Linked DNA regions of Homo sapiens: all the other regions are linked to region 3. The links are contacts of gene promoters, found by promoter capture Hi-C in human tissues and cell types (Jung and others, 2019). All regions are on one chromosome and are shown on one strand. The core of a region is centred on a gene start or on the middle of the fragment in contact, and the rest is flanking DNA. Distances in the headings are between cores, read along the strand shown.

Evidence for each region. Contacts are between HindIII fragments. The study calls those that stand out against the background at their distance.
Region 1: the fragment with the promoter of ZDHHC20 here is called in contact with the fragment with the promoter of XPO4 in region 3 in 1 of the 25 tissues and cell types used here (small bowel).
Region 2: a fragment that was not itself captured here is called in contact with the fragment with the promoter of XPO4 in region 3 in 1 of the 25 tissues and cell types used here (lymphoblastoid cells).
Region 4: the fragment with the promoter of GJA3 here is called in contact with the fragment with the promoter of XPO4 in region 3 in 1 of the 25 tissues and cell types used here (lymphoblastoid cells).

What each region holds. Positions count from the first base shown.
Region 1 is chr13:21,456,671-21,461,586 of GRCh38, reverse strand. It overlaps ZDHHC20 (zDHHC palmitoyltransferase 20), which reads left to right and starts at 2,284. Exons shown (of 13, transcript NM_001330059.2): 1 at 2,284-2,533. The coding sequence starts at 2,416. It overlaps LOC124903131 (a long non-coding RNA gene), which reads right to left and starts at 2,040. Exons shown (of 2, transcript XR_007063713.1): 1 at 1,408-2,040; 2 at 941-1,204. RefSeq lists a cis regulatory region at 2,043, an enhancer at 1,959-2,128 and a silencer at 1,992-2,371. The HindIII fragment of the contact is 17,074 bases long and covers 1-4,916 here.
Region 2 is chr13:21,475,781-21,480,613 of GRCh38, reverse strand. No RefSeq gene overlaps it. Among named protein-coding and RNA genes, the nearest start is that of ZDHHC20, 19 kb to the right of the region's middle. RefSeq lists a silencer at 3,257-3,306. The HindIII fragment of the contact is 9,938 bases long and covers 1-4,833 here.
Region 3 is chr13:20,899,387-20,904,553 of GRCh38, reverse strand. It overlaps XPO4 (exportin 4), which reads left to right and starts at 1,808. Exons shown (of 23, transcript NM_022459.5): 1 at 1,808-1,884. The coding sequence starts at 1,816. RefSeq lists a silencer at 1,406-1,785 and an enhancer at 1,996-2,045. The HindIII fragment of the contact is 40,685 bases long and covers 1-5,167 here.
Region 4 is chr13:20,159,065-20,163,751 of GRCh38, reverse strand. GJA3 (gap junction protein alpha 3) reads left to right here and starts at 2,700. Exons shown (of 2, transcript NM_021954.4): 1 at 2,700-2,862. RefSeq lists silencers at 2,050-2,409, 2,640-2,719, 2,880-2,969. The HindIII fragment of the contact is 27,118 bases long and covers 1-4,687 here.

The sequences.
Region 1 (4,916 bases), core at 1,035-3,534, 560 kb before region 3:
CAGCATATGCTTCTGGTGAGGCCTCAAGAAGCTTCCAATCATCAGTTGGAGACAACATTGGAGACAACAGCAACAGGAAGGTCCCTCTCACCTTCCTCTCGCTCTTCTCCCCTGAAGCAGGCCATAGCACTAGCAAAAGCGTCTCAGGCCTTCCCCTGAAGGCAGACCTAAGACTGTTATTCAAGAGGTGCCCTCCCTCTACCCAGACAAAGGAACATCCTTATCTCTGAAGACACAGGACCACAGAGATAGACTTCTGCCTTCTCGGCAGAAGGCAAAGGGGAGCCAGCATGTCACATGGCAAGAGAGGGGGCAAGAGAGAGAGTGGGGGAAGGATCAGGCTCTTTTAAATAACCAGATCTCATGTGAACTACTAGAGAAAGAACCCCTCATCCAAGGGGATGGCACTAAACCATTCATGAGGGATCCACCCTAATGATCCAATACCTCCCACCAGGTCCCACCTCCAACACTGGGATCACATTTCAACATGGGATTTGGAGGGGACAAACATCCAAACCATATCCAATATCCTTGCCAACACTTTGATTTGGGACACCTACCCTCCTAAACTGTGAGACAACCAATTTCTATTATTCCCCAGTTTTGTGGTACTTTGTTATAGTCACCCTAGGAAACGAATGTGACAGTTTTATAGTTAGGTTATAAACAAAATGTCGTGAAAGATCATTTCTAGCAGCCCTGGAGCTTGTAAAGGACATGGCTTTGTGCTGAGCTCTAGCAGCATGGTTTTGGTACGTAGAGATGACATAGAGGAGAAACGGCTTTATGTTCTTCCATGTCCATCCGAATTCTATGTTGAGGTCTAACCCTCCTAAGCAGCCTCTCTGGAAAACTAGTTGAACTTGAACCTAAACCTACTGTCAACTAGGCCACTAACTAATATGACTTTTAAGGCACAAAATCAGGGAGAACAGAATCTTTTATACATGCTTTATTACTCAAGCAGCAGTGTGCAGTGATTAAATACTTACTCGCTTTTACTACATTTCTCTGACACAGCAAAGGGTGACGTCTTCTTCATGGAGACTTTAGTGAGCAGTAGCTAATTTAAAGCTCAGTGTAGGCCGGTCGTGGTGGCTCACACCTGTAATCTCAGCACTTCTTTGGGAGGTGGAGGCGGAGAGGGGTTGGGATTCCTTGAGCCTTGGAGTTCAGGGCCAGCATGGCAACAGGGCGAAACCTAGTTTTTACAGAAAATACAAACATCAGCTGGGCATGGTGGCGGGCCTGTAGTCCCTGCTACTCTGCAGGCTGAAGCAGGAGGAGTGCTTTAGCAGGGAGGTCGAGGCTTAAATGAGCCCAGGTCGTGCCACTGCACTCCAGCTTGGGCGACAGAGCGAGAAGACCCTGTTTCAAAAAACAAACACAAAAATTCATTCTAACCAAAACTGAATGCTAGTAGCAGGAACTGGTATGAAGATTGCGGTCTGGAATCCCTTCTAATGCGTCTGACCTTGCATTGTGAAGTCTTCACAGTGATGCTTCTGGGTTCTATATGATTATCGTCATTGCTTAGCAACCTCTAGTTGTAAATAAATTCTTTAAATTTCCTTAGTCGTTTGCGGGGCAAGGAGAGGGTCATTTACATGCCCTTTCCTTCTCGCTACTCAATCTTAAATTTGGGTTACGAATCAAACTGATGGACCCTACATGGCTTCTACCCGAAATTACAGGTATCTACCGTTCCATCTTCAAGAAAGGGAGGGGTTCCGCCAAGATGGACGAACATAAAAATCACAGGAGGAGCCTTCTAACAATGTGCATTCTTCGCACACTGAGTGGGGAATGGCCTTGTCATGTTTGAAACAGTGCCCCAACTACTCAATGTCCCAGGAACCCCAGTGGAGCGAGTTCTGTACACAGAGAGGGCCAAGATCCACAAATCAGCTAAGGAATCATTTCCATAGTCTCCCTCCCCTATTGAGTCTCGATCCACAAAAGCTATCCCCTGTCCCTCTCATCCATCAAGGGCGTGTTTTTCGCCTCTCCTTCCCCGGCCTCCCGCGTCCGCCCAGCCTGTCCGCATCCAGCCCCGCCACGCCCCATGGGCGGTCCCGAGCTGCGGCCCCGCCCCCTCACCGCCTCCCCGGCCGCGGAAACCCCGCCCCAACGACGCGGAGACCGGGGGCGGCCCGCGGCCCGCGGCGGGCGGGCTGGCGGGGACGGACGCGGGGGGAGGGGGGCGACGGGATGTGGGGTGGGGGCGGGGCCTGGCTGGGCGCCGGGACGGGAGGAGTCCCGGCGGCGCCTCGGACTTTTGCTCCCACAAGTCCTGCCTCGGAGGCGGGGGAGCTGGACCAGCAGCCGCCTGGAGCGTCCGAGTCACCGTCGCCGGGGCTCCCGCGCTCCCCAGAACGGTGGGACGCGGGGCTCGGCAGCCGCCAGCGGAACATGGCGCCCTGGACGCTGTGGCGCTGCTGCCAGCGCGTCGTGGGCTGGGTGCCGGTGCTCTTCATCACCTTCGTGGTCGTCTGGTCCTACTACGCGTACGTGGTGGAGCTCTGCGTGTGTGAGTACCGTCCCCGGGGACTGCGGCGGGGCGCGGGCCGCGGCTAGGGCGCGAGATAGGCCTCTGCGCCCCACACCCGCCGCCTTTCTGGAGCCAGCGCCGGACGCCGGGCGTCCGGCCCCGAACGCGCTCGGAAGCGCCGAGGTTGCTGCACCCGCCGCTTTGTTCAATCCTGCGGCGCGGCCTTGGGGCGACCTGGGGCTCCTGAAGCCTTGCGGCGGCTTCCCGGGTGCAGGTCTGGCCCAGGGAGGCCCCAAGAGCTTCCTGGTTCCCGCCGACACCGGGGGTCTGCATCCTTCTGGGAAGGAACGTGCAGAACGGGAGTAGTCGAGCTTCTTAGAAGGTTTAGGTTGTGTTTGTGGCTTTTTTGGCTTTTGTTCATTTTTTTTAAAAAACCAAATCTGTTCCTTCTGGATTGTTTTTGTTCAAACTGCGCGAGAAGAAACGCCTGTTACCTGTAGAGCCGGCTGTGGCGGGTTGGGGGAAGGGAGGTGTGTCTTTTGGTGGCCTCGGGCTGGAGGCGGGTCAGACCTGGAGGACGAGTAAGCTCCCACTTTTGATTTTTGGTGGTACTCGACTCATTGTAAAATTCGTTTATTTCTACTCTGAATCCAGCCGGCTTTTGCAGAAGGTTAAGACAGAAAGAATGGGTGGGAGGAGACATAACCTGATTATTTTTTTCTTGGCTGATTATTAAGGAGGCTTATATTTCTTATACTCATATTTTGGCGTGTTAATTTTCGTTACTTCCATTTTCCTGATAAGTTCTTAGCACAAAATTCTCATCTGATTCCCTGGAAAAAAGGAGTAGCATTGCAGTATACTTCAAGGATTTAACCTACTGGCTTGAATTGGTTGCCTTTAAGATTGAAGGAAATTGGTTGTCATTAATCAAAAACACTGTTTAGGGGTGACTGCTACATTTGTGATATTGGGCAATTTCTCCAACATTGTTTTGTCTTAAGTAAATTGTTCTTAGGCTTTGAGTATGTGGGTATTTTACACTTAAACTGGCCTCAACTAGGGTGTTCTGTATACATCTGCTGCCTATATCAATTTTTTATGAAAACCTAGGACCAAATGGTAAGTGGTGTTTGTAAACGTTATTGTTATTCCAGAATGTTCTACTCTTAGTCCTTAGACTGAATCTACCATTTTATGAAGGACTGTTAAGTGTTCTTTGAATAACGAACCACATCAGCTAGAAACTAATGTTATGAATGAGAAGAATCTGTACCACCCACTCTTGAAAGTGGCAGAATCAAGACTTCAATTATGTTTGGATTTGTACAGCTTTCAACCAAGTATTTGGTTAAAACCCTAGTTCTATACATGGAAGAGAATGCTTTGGCTCAGAAAATTTATAAGTTTTGAAATTAAAACATCCAGTTTTAAAATTACTTTGTACCTATAGAACGTTTAATTTTGGGACGACTATCCCTGCAGGTAGGCCCAGAATAAATTAGTTGTGGAATACATTTCCAAATAATATTAATCTTTTCAATATCATTGTTTAGTCTCATGCTTTTGGATACCAGAATGTTTACTAAAAATGATGTTTGAGTCAATTAAAATTACTAGATTTTAATATTTCTGGGAGCTACTTCCAGAAAGTGGTAGTGATCATAGGATTCTCATCAACTTATGATGATACCTCCTTTATCTTCTTATTTACTCTGAAGTGGGCATTTATTCTAAAAGTTATGTCATTCCTATTCTGTCAGAAGATTATTCCTACCGTATTTTAATTCCCGTAGTGGTTTTGAAGTAAAGCTGAAGGAACACTAAAAATGTGCATTTATGTTGAGATTCCACAGCTTAACCTGTAGATGGTTTTTGTCAAAAATATTAAGAAATGAGATCAAACAGTGCTGTGAAAAGTCTTAAATTGCTTCTGATTTCTTTCACCACTTCAAATAAAGAAGGAGAAATGAACATGAATTGAGAAGTGCCATGTGCTAGTGGGCATAGAGGGGACATTTCATTCACCCTCTCCTTTAATTCTTTCAGTATGTCACAGCATAGGTATCTCTACAGGTGGAGGACGTGAGACTGAGCGAATAGGTCCTTTTGGTTAGGTCACACAATTGATTATTGGAATGTGACCCACATCTTTCCGTTCTTTCATATAACTTCAGTAAGCTATGAGGGTCAATGGAACTGTAATTGTTTGGTCCATAATGGTGTGGGGGGATAAAGGGGTTGGCATATTTTTGGAGATCACTTAGTTAGGCTTGAGGCCCATTCTGTAGAGATTATACCCTACAATTTCATTAAGTTAAAACATTCTATAACTATGGCCTGATGCTTGGCAGAATCTTAAAATATTTGGTGGTGAAAGGTCTTATGTAGAGGCTGTATTAACTTCTGAGTTATCTCATTT
Region 2 (4,833 bases), core at 944-3,443, 580 kb before region 3:
TCGAACTCCTGACCTAGTGATCCACCCGCCTCAGCCTCCCAAAGTGCTGGGATTACAGGCGTGAGCCACCCCGCCCGGCCGGAAGGAACATTTTCTAAAAGATGGGCGTGACTACTCCCAGACGGCAGCAAGGGTGCTGGGCGGACACAGTGGATTGTTACTCTAAGCTGTGCCATTCTGTAGGCTAAGACCAGCTTAGGAGACTCCAGGGGACCGCAGGGCAAATTACACTCAACACTAGAGGATCAGGGTGAAAGTCACAGGAGAATCTTCTTTTTTTTTTTTTTTTAGACAGAGTCTTCCTCAGGCTGGAGTATGCAGTGGCATGATCTTGGCTCACTGCAACCTCTGCCTCCCAGGTTCAAGCGATTCTTGTGCCTCAGCCTACTACCAAGTAGCTGGGACTATAGGCGTGCACCACCACAACCAGCTAATTTTTGTATTTTTAGAAGAGACGGGGTTTTGCCATGTTGGCCAAGTTGGTCTCAAACTCCTGACCTCAAGTGACCCACAAACCTCAGCCTCCCAAAGTGCTGGGTGGGACTACAGACATGAGCCACCACGGCCAACCAGGAGAACTTTCAAATTGGCTGCCTGGCTCCAAGACTTTGACATACTTATCCCTTTATAGCCAATACATTTGACAGCATGCGATAAATTAAGAGCTATGTACACGGTTTTAATTCAATTCATAATATTTTGCTTTTTCTCTCCCTGGGGCATGTTTTACTTTTATTGTGGGCCAAGAGGTAAGACAGTAGGGATTTAAGTAAGCAGAGAGGAGTCGTCTAGACCCTCAGCTGCCAGCCTTTTGAGTCCTGGGTTTTCATTTTCTGATCCCATAAGTGATATTTCTGCCACCCCTCACCTCTGCCCCAGTGATGTATAAGCAAGGGAAGGAGAAGAAAGGAGAAAAAGCAGCGCCCACGTTGCCAGGTTCATGCCTTAAACAGTTCTCTAGATTCCAATGTCTCTGCCAACATCATGCCAAAGAAGATCCAACATCAAGTGCACATGTTGAACAGCTGAACCTAACTCAAGCCAGTTAGGGAGAGAAGTTTCCATGCTCAGAGGAGGCATCCCCTGTGATTTGTTTAACTTCACATTTTCTCACCTCTGCCTTGGAAGTGACAGGTGTTTAATTCTAAATTGTAACAGTTAATGGACTTTTAAAGACATTTTCCTGATATTTTTCTGAGGGAGTACAAGACAGACTTCAAAGTCAGAGTTCCATGCAGATAAGCACACAGATCCGTAGACAGAGGCGGTAGAGGAAAAGTGAGTCACTAAGTTTTCTTTAATGGAAACTGCATATCTTCAAAAGCTGGAGTGCAAACTGACACTAATACCACATCGATGCCATAGAATGAATGAGACAAAATGATGAAATGCAGGGAGAAAACTCGTATTGAGAAAAATTAAAAGAATCCTGCAAATCACTTGTGGCGTTACAGTTGATTTAAAGTGAAAGCATTCAATACAAATGTTCCACAAGGTGGCAGCCTTGCTTTTCCAAAAAATTTTTATCTGCCTTGCATACACCAAGCATTACTTTCCTTTCCTTTCCCTCCCTCCCTCCCTCTGTTCCTTCCTTCCTTTTTCTTTCTTTCTTTCTTTCCTTCTTTTTCTTTCTTTCTTTCCTTCTTTCTTTCTTACTCTCACTCTCTCTTCATTCCTTTCTTTGTCGTCCCTTCCTTTCTCTCTTTTTTTTTTTTTTTGAGACAAAGTCTCACTCTGTCACCCAGGCTGGAGTGCAGTGGCACCATCTAGGTTCGCTGCAACCTCTGCCTCCCAGTTAAAGCGATTCTCCTGACTTAGCCTCCTGAGTAGATGGGATTACAGGCACCTGCCACCACGCCCAGCTAATTTTTGTATTTTTATTAGAGATGGGGTTTCACCATGTTGGCCAGGCTGGTCTTGAACTCCTGACCTCAAGTGATCCTCCCACCTTGGCCTGCCAAAGTGCTAGGATTACAGGCGTGAGCCACCTCACCCGGCCTTTTTTTTTTTTTTTTTTTTTTTTTTGGCAGGGCCTTGCTCCACCCAGGCTGGAGTGAAGTTGAGGGTTCCTCAAACTCCTGGGCCCAAGCGATCCTTCCACCTCATCCTCCCAAGTAGCTGGGATTAGGGGCATGCACCACTACACCCAGCTAATTTTTAAAACTATTCTGTAGAGACGGGGTTCTTGCTATTTTGCCCAGGCTGGTCTCGAACTCCTGGCTTGAATCTATCCTCCCGCTTCGGCCTCCCAAAGTGCTAGGATTACAGGGTGAGACACTGCACCCGGCCCACACATGATCTTTTTTTTTTTTTTTTTTTGAGACAGAGTCTCTCGCTCTGTCACCCAGGCTGGAGTGCAATGGCGCGATCTCAGCTCACTGCAACCTCCACCTCCTGGGTTCAAGAGATTCTCCTGCCTCAGCCTCCCGAGTAGCTGGGATTACAGGCACTAGCCACCACACCCAGCTAATTTTTTGTATTTTTAGTAGAGATGGGGTTTCACCATGTTGGCCAGGATGGTCTTGATCTCCTGACCTCGTGATCCGCCTGCCTTGGCCTCCCAAAGTGCTGGGATTACAGGCGTGAGCCACCATGCCCAGCCCACACATGATCTTTAACAGAAAAACTAACCATATAATAAAGAAGATATACAGAAAATTACAGAATATCTCAGAGATGACTTGCTTAATGAAGGAGAAACATTGTGGGAGGCTTTGAACTGACATGCCTCAGCTAAATATTGACCAACTCAGAGAAATTAGTGCTTTACCACATTTACCATTAGCACTTGCTGTTTGTGTTTGCTTACATTCGGCAAGGAAGGAAATTAATGTTTGGAATCTCTATGCAACATCTTGTTACTAGCCAGGTTATCTCTTCAGTATCATCAATGTCAAATCTTTATTGAAGCCTGCTCTATTCAAAGCATTCTGCTAGGTGCTAGTCTTCTTTCTAGGAGAGTTCTCTTGCCAAGAGGATGAAATGGGAGAAAACAGTGTGCTTATAGTACTTACCACACCTAGACTTATATAATATTTAAACATTCAATAGTGGGTGAAAATATATTAATAACTCCTTTATGCTTTGCAGAATGTCATGCGAGCTCTTCCCCAAAATTTTATGATCCAAAAAGAATTAAAGGAATGTTCACAGTAGCATCATTTCAAATAAAAATTCAGAAACAACATAAATATCTAGCACCATGAAAATGGATAAATTGTGCTCTAATTGTACAATGAAATTCTAGGCAGCTGTTAAAATGGCGAATGAGTAAATTAAGTTACTAAGCTATTGTCTCTCCGTTCCATCCCCTCGCTTGCACACATACTTGGCTTTGTCATGATGGGGCCGGTCCCAGACCCTGCAAAACCCGTTTCCCTTTGCTTGCTGGCGACGTGCTAGGCTCTGCCGATAGGGGGCAGTAGAGGGAGCCTGCAAGCCGGGAGGAGGGAAAGGGGCTCGTTCCTCTCTGTGTCCGGTCAGTGTTATTTGTGTCTGTACTCAGCCTTCATCCTGGCAGCGGTTAGTACCAGTCTCCTGGTTTTTTTTGTGTGTGTGTGTGGTTTTTTTTATGTTTTGTTTTGTTTTTGTTTTGCACTCCCGGAACCAGCCACATTGTGTCCTCTCCCCGCTCCCGCCACCCGCCCAGGCACTGGCACCAGGCGCCTCTTGGGAACGGCAGGCCTTTCTTTCCAGTTTCTGGATTTTAATCCCCCAGCCTCTTCTCTTAGTACCCTGGACCAGGGAGTGGTAGCTGCTTCCAGCATTTACTTTCTTCTTTGCTTCTTCACTCTTCTAGCACCTGTTTAACCAGCTCCTTCTATTAATTTTTTTTCTGTTAAGCTCCCCTTCCCCAGTCCTAAAAAAAAATAATAATAATAATCTATTGAAATACTTAATGTGGACCCTGACTCATACAATGACCATGTGTCAGGAACTGCAGATTTATAACACAGGTAGATAAGGAGGTAGAGGCATAGCAGACATGCATATATACATATTAGAATATTTCCATATACATATGTGTTATATATAAAATGCAGATATATACACATGTAAGTACATATGTATTTCTTACATGAGCTATATTTAGACCTATGTGTACATATATATAAAATTTCCTGCCAGGTGTGGTGGCTCACGCCTGTAACCCCAGCACTTTGGGAGGCCGAGGCAGATGGATCACCTGAGGTCAGGAGTTCGAGACCAGCCTGACTGATATGTTGAAACCCCGTCTCTACTAAAAAAAAACACACAAAAATTAGATGGGCGGCATGGTGGCGGGCACCTGCAGTCCCAGCTACTTGGGAGGTGAGACAGGAGAATTGATTGCATCCAGGAGGCAGAGGTGAGCCAAGTTTGTGCCACTGCACTCCAGCCTGGGCGATGGAGCGAGACTCTGTAGCAAAACAAACAAACAAACAAACAAACAAAACAAAGAATTTCCCCTAATCCTTACAATAAATGCTATGAGAAAGATACTATTATTCCTATTTTACAGGAGGAGAAACTGAATCTCAGGGAGATTAGTTAATTTCTACAATGCATAGCTAATAAGTGGTAATGCTGGGATTTGAATCCAAATATCCCCAACTCCACAATCTGTATCTTTCCCATATGCTTTAAAGTTGTTTAGACCTCAATTCAATCTATCCTTAACTGTGTTCTGCAATATAACTCAGTCCTTAGGCTAATCCACAACTGTCTTCTTACCTAATAGTGTAAGTAAATATAGCACTATTCTAATAAGTACTAGAGAATATAATCACCATAATACAAGACTGTTTCTGTGACTGAAGTTATGGGGAGGTTGAGAAAACTGTAGGAAAAGCA
Region 3 (5,167 bases), core at 559-3,058:
ACACAGACATTCTGTTGCAGTGACATAAAACCTCAACAGTATGGCTTTCTTATAACTAGGAATAAGAAACAGGAAGATTTCAACAAAAAATAAACTTAAAAATACTGAAACGAATTTGACTGTCTGTGTTGTTTCAGAAGGCTGAATAAGCACCAAAAAGAAGTTATAGGAATGTAGACCGTAGATGTCAGCTCAAAACGAAACAAACCCCTGATCCGAACAACCTAACAGCACTGGTTTGAATACTGAAACAGCTGTCAGGACCACTTGCGTGGAATGTCCTAGAGGCAACTGGAGCACCGGAGGGAAGGTTAATTACTTGATACTCTAATATGCCTTTCAACACGGATTCCACAAACACGACAATGCTGATTTTTGTCCTTTTTTTTTTTTTTCCTGAGACAGGATCAGCCTCTCACCCAGGCTGGAGTGCCGTGGTGTGATCTCGCCCCACTGCACTCTCGACCTCCTGGGCAATCCTTCCGCTTCAGCCTCCCGAGAAGCTCGGACCACAGGCGCAAGACACCACACCGGGCTTTTTTTTTTTTTTTTTTTGGTAGAGACAGGGTCTCACGATGTTGCCCAGGCTGGTCTCGAACTCCTGAGCTAAAATGAGGCCTGCCTTGGCCTCCCAAAGTGCTGGGATTACAGGCATGAGCCACAGCGCCTGGCCGACAAAGCTCATCTTACTGCATTTGAGAAGCCAGGTAGTCAAGGTCAGGCTTTCCTGTCCCTGCTTTCTCCCTCTCCTATGTGAGCCAGCCCTTAAAGAGTGAAAACGGCAAGAGCCAAAGACGGGTTTTCCTCCTAGGGTCTCCTAGCGACCCGCTGCCCAGATACATTTGGATGATTGTCCTGCAGAAGGCCAAAGCCCTCCATTATGAAAACGAAGCGTTCGGCCGGGGGCGGTGGCTCACGCCTGTAATCCCAGAACTTTGGGAGACCGAGGCGGGCGGATCACCTGAGGTCAGGAGTTCGAGACCAGCCTGGCCAACATGGTGAAACTTCGTCTCTACTAAAAGTACAAAAATTAGCCGGGCGTGGTGGCGGGCGCCTGTAATCCCAGATACTCAGGAGGCTGAGGCAGGGGAATCGCTTGAACCCGGGAGACGGAGGTTGCAGTGAGCCGAAATAGGGCCATTGCACTCCATCCTGGGCGATAGAGTGAGACCCTGTCTCCAAAAAAAAAAAAAAAGAAAGAAAGAAAACGAAGCGTTCTATCCTGGAATGTTCTCCCATGGCAAGAAGGAACAGAGAAGCAGGAGACAGAGATACTTTGAAAGGAGGTGCGCTCTGAGGAGGGGAAAGCGGGAAGAGCGATTCCAAGTTTAGGAAATCCTGCACGGCGCTGGAGCGTGGAAGGGCAAGGAGGAGCCAGGGGAGGCGGTGTGCAGGGCTGAGAACGGAGGGAGCGAACTGGCGTCGTGGATCTGCGGGTCCCCGGGCGGGCTGTACTAGGGTAGTGGGGAGAGGGCCGGGGGCACCGCGAGGCCGGGGCGCCGGACACCACGCATGCGCGGGGCTGGGAGCTTAGCGGGGCGCGCGGCTGCAGCAGTCTGGGCAGACCGCCTCGGCCTCGCCCGGTGCCGGCTGCGGCCGCCCCCGCCCCAGCGCGGCGGCCGGGCTCACACTAGTCCCCTCCCAGCCACCCGGAACCCGGCAGCCCGGCCAGACCCGCCGAGGCCGCGACGCCGGTGTCGACAGCGGCTGCGACGGCCCTGGGAGCGCGTGAGGCTCCGGGGTCGCGGCGGCGATTGGCCGGCCGCGGCGCCCGCTCCCAGAATGCAGCGCATGGCGCGTCATTGAAGAGAGACCATGATGGCGGCGGCGCTGGGGCCCCCAGAAGTGATCGCTCAGCTGGAGAACGCGGCTAAAGTTCTGATGGTGAGGACGCCGCGCCCCTCAGACCCCGGGATTCGCGGGCCCCCGGTCGGCCCTGCCACTCCAGGCCTTGCTGCTCGCTGGGCTGGCGACTGGCAAGGGCCTGCAGGGAGCCTGGAAGTGGAGGAGGAGGTGGCGGTGGCGTGGCGCAGGATTCTTCAGCCTACTTTCCTCCTGCCGTCGTCCCCTCCTTCCAGGAGCTGTCCCCTTCCCCTGGCTGCCCAGCACCCCAGTCGGGCGTGGGAATATAGTGGTGTAGCAAAGAGAATTTCTTCACCTTACACCCTGCCCCACAGACTGGGTCGCAGAGCAAGGCGCCGGGAAGGAGTTGGGGTTATCCCCGCAGGGCTTCGGTAGGGGAAATTTGTAGGGCTGTGTGAGCGCTCTTGGGGAGTTGGTGTCGGGAGGGATTGGATGGCACAGCCTGGGTGCTGTTAGCAACCCTTGTTTCCTGTGCATTCGCATCCTCTAGCGCTTCCCTGACATGCAGCCACCTCTGGAGTAATTGCAGCCGGCAGCACGTGGAAGGGCCGGGCCGGCTGGAGGGAGGGAGGGGAATCGTTGAGACCAAGGTCATTGGGGCAAAACTTGGTCTAGTGCTAAGCTCCTTAAAGCTCCCGCGATTTGGAGAACTGAGTCTATGCTACTCTTTGACTTCATGCTTACACTACAATAAGCAGTTTGATGAGATTGTTTACTAAGGGAATTTGAGAAGGCCGAGTCAAAGGATAAAAGTATTACATGCAAGGAGGAGAAGTAAGGATAAACTACGTTCAGTTAGTAAACAGTGTTTCTATTTGCTGGCTCAGCTTTGTTTTTGCAAATTATGACTTCGGTGTTTGTAGATGTTTTGGGAAGTTAGAGGTTCATTTGATACCTGGATTGATTCAGACTTTCTAAGAATTGGATACAGCCAGCTTTGTTACCTTTTTGGACTTTTTTCCTTTTGGTTTGGTGTTAGGGTGTTTGAGCATCACATTTGAGAATATTCGAACTAATTCTAGCGTAGTTTGTAGTTCTAATATTTTACACCAGATATTTTTGTTTCTTTAGAAATCGAGAAGTCTAATAAAAGCAGGATTTACTTGCTTCATTATGAATATTAACTTAATGTACGTTTTGTCACAAAACAGACTAGTGAAGGTTTTCACACTTTTGCAAATTAAGCAGAAGTAACTAGCTAGTATTCCCCTTAATAAAAGATTCTTAAAAATCCCTGACATAGAGCGTTTTGTAAAATTCCTGAAATTTTCCTAGGAGCTAGGGGCTCCGTTTTCATTGGATTCTGGAAGGAGTATGCCACCCAAAACACGGCTGTAGTTCTTACACTGATCAGGTAAAATCAGTGTCCTTCGTCACTGGCTTAATATAAACTAGTATTTGTGTTTTCCAATATCTTCCCTCTTCCCTGGCAAAGCTGCTTTTATCCCCTATAAGGAGTAGGTGAGAAGAATAGTAGTAAGTACCGTTTATTGAGTGCTAGATATTGGGCTTGATGCTTTACATACTTTACATATTTTATTAATTCTTGCAACAGCTTTGCTTTACAAGGTTGAGAAACTGTAAGTGGCCCGGGTTACACGATTACTAAATGGCTGAATTAGGTCTTGAACTCAGTTCTGTCTGGCTCTAAAGCTGTGTGTCTTTCCACTCTACCCCATCTGTCATATGTTGTATAAATAATTTGTCTAAATGCTTTTTATCTTTTCAGAGGAGAGTAGTATTGAAAAAAGTGTCATGTTATTAAAAACAGGAAATTACAGCCGGGTGCGGTGGCTCATTCCTGTAATCCCAGCACTTTGGGAGGCCGAGGTGGGCGGATCACTAAAGATTAGGAGCCCAAGACCAGGCTGGCCAACACGGTGAAGCCCCATCTCTACTAAAAATATAAAAATTAGCCGGGCGTGATGGCTGGCACCTTTAATCTCAGCTACTCTGGAGGCGAAGACAGGAGAATCGCTTGAACCAGGAGGCAGAGGTTGGAGTGAGCCGAGATCGTGCTGCTGCACTCCAGTCTGGGCGACAGAGTGAGACTTCATCTCAAAAAAAAAAAAAGGAAATGACTTTTTGGAAATTTCCACTTAAGTATTCAGAAATTTGTACCAAAGATGTGTAGAGTAGTTATTGTATTATTTCTTAATATGAAAGCTATATTCCAAATTATTAATAGCTACCATTTATTGAGTACATACTATGTTGGAGGCGCTGTGCCAAGCCCTTTACATATATTACTTTTTATCTCCAGTAACTCTGTGAGGTAGGTATTATTACTTTCATCTTCTTTTTTTTTTGACCAAGTCTCACTCTGTTGCCCAGGCTGGAGTGCAGTGGCACGATCTTGGCTCACTGCCACCTCCGCCTCCCGGGTTCAAGCGATTCTCCTGCCTCAGCCTCCCGAGTAGCTGGGACTACAGGTATGTACCACCACACCCAGCTAATTTTGTATTTTTAATAGAGACAGGGTTTCACCATGTTGGCCAGGCTGGTCTCGAACTCCTGACCTCGTGATCCACCTGCCTCGGCCTCCCAAAGTGCTTGGATTACAGGCGTGAGCCACTGCACCTGGCGTGTTACTTTCGTTTTCATTTTACAGGCTAAGGAAACTCCAACATGTAGATGCTAAGTAATCTACACAAATTTACATAGCAAGGGGTAGAGACTCAAACTCTGGTTTGTCTGTTACCAGTCTGTGGTTCTTAAGCTGTAGGATACTGGGACCAGAAAGGAGGTAAATTAATTCATCTTTGGCTAATTAAGGTTGTTAATGCTCCGTCAATTATTAAGCATTAAGCTACATATTTTAAACAGAGTGATCTTAGCATTTATCCATCTGTGGGTCTGAATATATCTTATGGAAAATTGCTGTATTTTAACTGTTAATATGCTTTGAGATTCAAAATGCAAATAGTGATGTATTTCATAATTATTTTTGCTTAATTTTTCATTAGGTAACTCATATAGTTGTTTTATGGAAATCAGCATAGAATTTTAGAACATAGAAGAATCTTAGATCTTTTGGTACAGAAGTCTTAGGGAGTCTAGGATGAATATCAAAAGGAAATTGTAACAAATTTTTTGGTGTAAATGTACATTTTTAGTAATAGGGTCTAGAGCTTTTATCACCGTCTCTGAGAGACTAGAAACTGAAAAATAAGAATCAAGTCTAAGCATTCTCCCTTCTATGCTACAGATGGGGAAACTGAGGTTCAAAGAGGTAGAAGTGACTTGCCCAAGGTAGGTCACAGAGCAAATTCATGATATAACTGATCCAGGCTGAGATCACCAG
Region 4 (4,687 bases), core at 1,451-3,950, 740 kb after region 3:
ATTCTGCTTTCACATGAACACACACAAGATTACCACGTTTGCTCTGGGCTGCTGCGTATTGGAAGGACATACACATTCAACAAATATTTGTTGAACTTCCATTCTGTACACAAAGCACAAAGAAAGATTCGTTCACAGTCCGTGTGGGTACTGGAAAGCAGTTCCAGCCCTGCCTGCCAGGGGGCACCCCAGGCAAGCACATCTCAGTGGCTGCTAGAAAGTGAATTGAGGCTGAGTCTCTCCACACCCAAGTGTTAGGCGTTCTAGGCTCAGAAAGAGACAATGACAATGCGGGCAATTCTCTCTTCACTGTGTCCTCTTCTTTGCTAGAAATGTTATTAGAATATGGAAATGTGACATTCAGCACTAATCAGTTTGACATATGAATATATCTATACACATATTTCTCCCTGAAATTGGCCTAAATACTCTTTCTTGGAACCAAATGAGAAGCAAACAACCTTTACAACTAAACATTAAACCATAAGATGAACATCTTAGTTGTCTACCTAGAAATTGTACAGTATGACAAGTGTAAAGAAACTGCTAGCTTCTTAGTTGTGCTGGTCTTTACACAATACCACTTTAAAAATTGTTTTATGGTAGTAAAATATACATAACCTTTAATTTACCATTTAACCTTTCTTAATGTGTACAGTTCTGTGGCATTAAGTACATTCACATTGTTATGCAACCATTACCATCATCTGCTTCCAAAACTATTTCTATCTTCCCAAACTAAAACTCCGTACCTATGAAACTCTATCTTCCCGTTTCCCACTGCCCCAGCTGCTGGTAACCACACTTCTACTTTCCGTCTCTATGATTTTGACTGCTGTAGGTACCTCATGTAAATGGAATCATACAGTATTTGTGACTTTTGTGACTGGCTTATTTCATTTAGCATAATGTACTCAAGGTTCGTCCACGTTGTAGCATGTGATGGGGCTCTCCCTTTTTAAGGCTGAATAATATTCCACTGTAGGTATGCAATACATTTTGTTTATCCATTCATCCATTGATGGACACCTTTTGGCTATAGTAAATAATGCTTGTATGAACATATATGTAAAATATTTGTTCGAATTACATAATATAATTTAAAATCTATATTTTAATAAAAATTTTAAAATTATTACAATATTATATTTCCATTTTTATCCTCAGAATACCAATAATAGCATTTGGCAAACAGACTACAAATATTAACAATTCCTAGTGCTTTTGTGATCAACAAAAAAAAAAAAACTATTCCTGTGCTTCTCAGAGAAAATGTTTTAAATGAGAAAAATATTCAAGTATTTTAAGACCTTCAAAGGTAGCATTTTTCAATTAAAAATTAAAAACTAAGTCTCCGTAACTACTACCTACTCCATACATACACCGCAAAGTTCCCAAAGGGAGAAGATATTTTAGATGCGCCTTTAGGAGCTTAGTTTTTCCTCCTTGGGATAACTTTAAATTCAGATCTCAGCAGAACAAACGCATTTTTCAGGGCAAGCCAACTGCTAATCCGAGTAGATCTAAACGCTAACGAAGGCAGCCGACGGAAGCTGCTCCATGAAGACACGAAAACTATCAGACTTGCATTTTGCCACATTCCTGGAATAAACTTATTACTCATAAAGGTGATTTTGAAGCCATTTCAGCTTGTGGAATGATCACCGAAATGCAGTCCACCGATATTTGTTAATATCCCAGGCTGGTCAAACCCCACTCCAGACCTTGGGGGACGGGGAGGGGACCCGCGGCCTCTCTAGGCTGTGCCCAGACAGCAGACAAGGACGCGATGCCGCCCTCGGTCCGCGGCCTTCCGCGGTAGGCGTCCCTCTCAAGCGTGGTAAAACCACCCCGAAGGGAACAGAAAACGTTAAAATCTTCGTTGGGCGCCAGCAGGCAGGTTAGGCCTCGCCCTGGCATCTCGTCTCCAGGACCAGATGGAGCGAGTGACCCGCGGGGACACCTTCCCGGTCACCTCGAGCGCAATAAAACAAGTTCTTTTTTTAAAAATAAGCATCCGTGTGCCTGCCGGCTAAATTAAGTGTGTCTGAAGAGAAGCAGGATGGCGGCCGCTATTTATAACCTCCCGCCCCGCCCGGGCGCCACTCCTCGACAGCACCCACGCTGTGCCCGGCGGCGCTTCCGCGGGGACTTCCTGCTCGGTGGTCCCCGCCCCGCCCCGCGCCAGCCGTCCGGAACCCGCGTCCCCAGGCGGCTGCAGGCGGGCGAGACCTAGGTGCCCGACGCCCACGCGCCTCCGACCGTGGGAGCGCCCGGAGAGCAGCTACCTCGCCGGGCCTGCGAAGCCCAGGACAGGCGCGAGCGGGGCGCGGGCTGGCGCATCTGCGTGCGGTGGGCGCCCCGCAAGCGGGTCGGGCCCGCCCCAACAGCCCTCGGCTCTCCTCTCACGTCCCGCGCGGGCATGCCCCGGAGTGCGTAGGCGGCAGGGAAGAGCCCCCGCGTCCACATCCCCAGGGCCCGCGCAGGTGCGGGATGGGGATGCAGGCGCTAGGCATGGACGTGCGCGCGGGGTAGGGTGTGGAATGCGGACGCGGGCGAGTGCTGTGGCTGCGCGTACAGGGTAGGGATGCGGGGGCGGTAGGTGTGCGTGCTGGGAAGCGCGCGGGGCGGGGCTGTTCGGAGGCGGCGGGGGCGTGGCGCGGCGTCCTGAGCTGCAGCTTGGGGGCGTCGGGCGCAGCGCACACTGGGGCTGCAGGGATGGCGATCAGGGCGGGGAGGTCGGGCCCTGGCGCGGGGCGCACGCGTGAAGCAGCACCGCACGTGTGAAAGGAATTCTTTTCAGAGCGGCCGGGAGCCCTGCTCCGGAGGAACGCACCCGGGTCGCCGCCGCGGCAGAGCGGGGTAAGGCGGGCCGGGCGCCCCGGAGGCCAGGCACAGGGGCCGAGGGCAGCGCGGGGCGGGGACGGGCGGGTCGGCGGCGCAGCGGAGCTGCCGGGCGAGCCCAGCGGGCTGAGACTGCCGAGCTGGGAAGCCGAGCCCCGGCACGTGTGCGGCTCCCAGCCCCCTAGGATTCTTTCAGGATTCTTCAAAAAGTTGTGGGGAGCTCGGGAAATTTGTGAGAAACTTTTGGAATAATTGATCTTCCTCCTTTGCTCCTGGAGGTCTGGAGAGCAGCGCCTCGTTTGGCTTCCCTTGATGGACAGTCCAAGGCCGAGTTTAAGTTGTTTTCCTGGGGTTGTTTTCCCCCTCGGGTGGAGGAAGCCGGGCTGTCCCGGACCGTCAGGCTGTAGGGCTCCTAGCGATGCTGAAATGCTTGAAAACTCTAAGCAGATGTCACCGCGCCAGCTAACGGCGCGCACCCAGCCGTCCACGGGCATTCAGCATCGCCGTGCTCCTAAAAGTCCTGTTGGGATTGTTTAGAAACAAGGTTGGCTCGCCTACATTTTTTTCAGAAACTTTTTAAAACTTTTTATTTTTAAGAAACACTGTAGCTATTAATGCCACGACCAGATTTCTCGACCTGTATGTTTGTTATGATGTGTTCAACTATAAGGAATTTGCAGAGGAGTGGAAAAGCACTGTCCGAGCCCCTTCCCGTAGGAGACTTGAGAAAACAAACGGCAGTGACGCGGCTGCATTTGCTTTGTTGCCGACTCCACACTAGTGAGCAAAATTCATCCTACCATGTAGAGTTCTCGGTTCGTGAATATGTGACTGCAACTTTAGAACTCCAGTTTTTATTTTATCAAGATGTCTCCAAAACATGCCATTTAAAAATGATTCTATACAAACAGCTGACAAGCGAATTATGGGTCTCATCACCCAGGAATTAAAAACCATGGTGATTTATGATGTGCGCATCACTTCACTGGCGGTCCATCCATGTGCAAGACAAACATTAAAAGATTAAAGAGGAAAAAAGAGGGATTTATTTTCCGAATATCAGTGTGTTCAAAGTAAACATCAGCTAGTTTGGCACAGATTCCACCTGCTCAGCAGTTTGGTTCATATCGAGATAAGCATCTCATAAGGGCAATGCATGTGTTGCTGTAGTGGAAAGTAATTCACGAAACGGTACTACTCTAACAAATCAGACAGTACTGTTTCTTAACCAGGAACCGTTAACTGGCTGAAAGCTGTCTTAAAAGAATGGCGGGTAACAAAATTTTTTGCCAATAAGGAAAATATTTTTGACCCAGTTTTCTTGAATGTTACTCACATTTTAACTTATTATATTCATTTCTCTTAGCTAAAATAACGTGTACACACTACATTTGAAACGAAAAATTACGTTTATCGCAGCCTTTTTTTTTTTTTTTTTTTTTTTTTTTTTTGAGATGGAGTCTCGCTCTGTCACCCAGGCTGGAGTGCAGTGGTGCGATCTCGGCTCACTGCAACCTCCCGAGTAGCTGGGACTACAGGCGTCTACCACCATGCCTTCTTCCTCCCTCCGCTGGATGGTAGCTATTCCCAGTACTATGTAGTACTTACATTTTGATCTGTTTTTTGCCACTCTGCCTCTCTCATAGATTGCAAATGAATCTCCTGAGAGTGAGGACTGGATCTTAATTGTTTTGCTGTCCTCAGTGTGTGGCACAGTGCCACACACAATAGGTAATAATGTTTTATAATAATAATAAATGTTTACTGAATTGAGGAGGGAAAAAATCCAATATATGTGACAACAGCATATATGTCTCTAAAAAACAGTATGTTTCTGCAATTT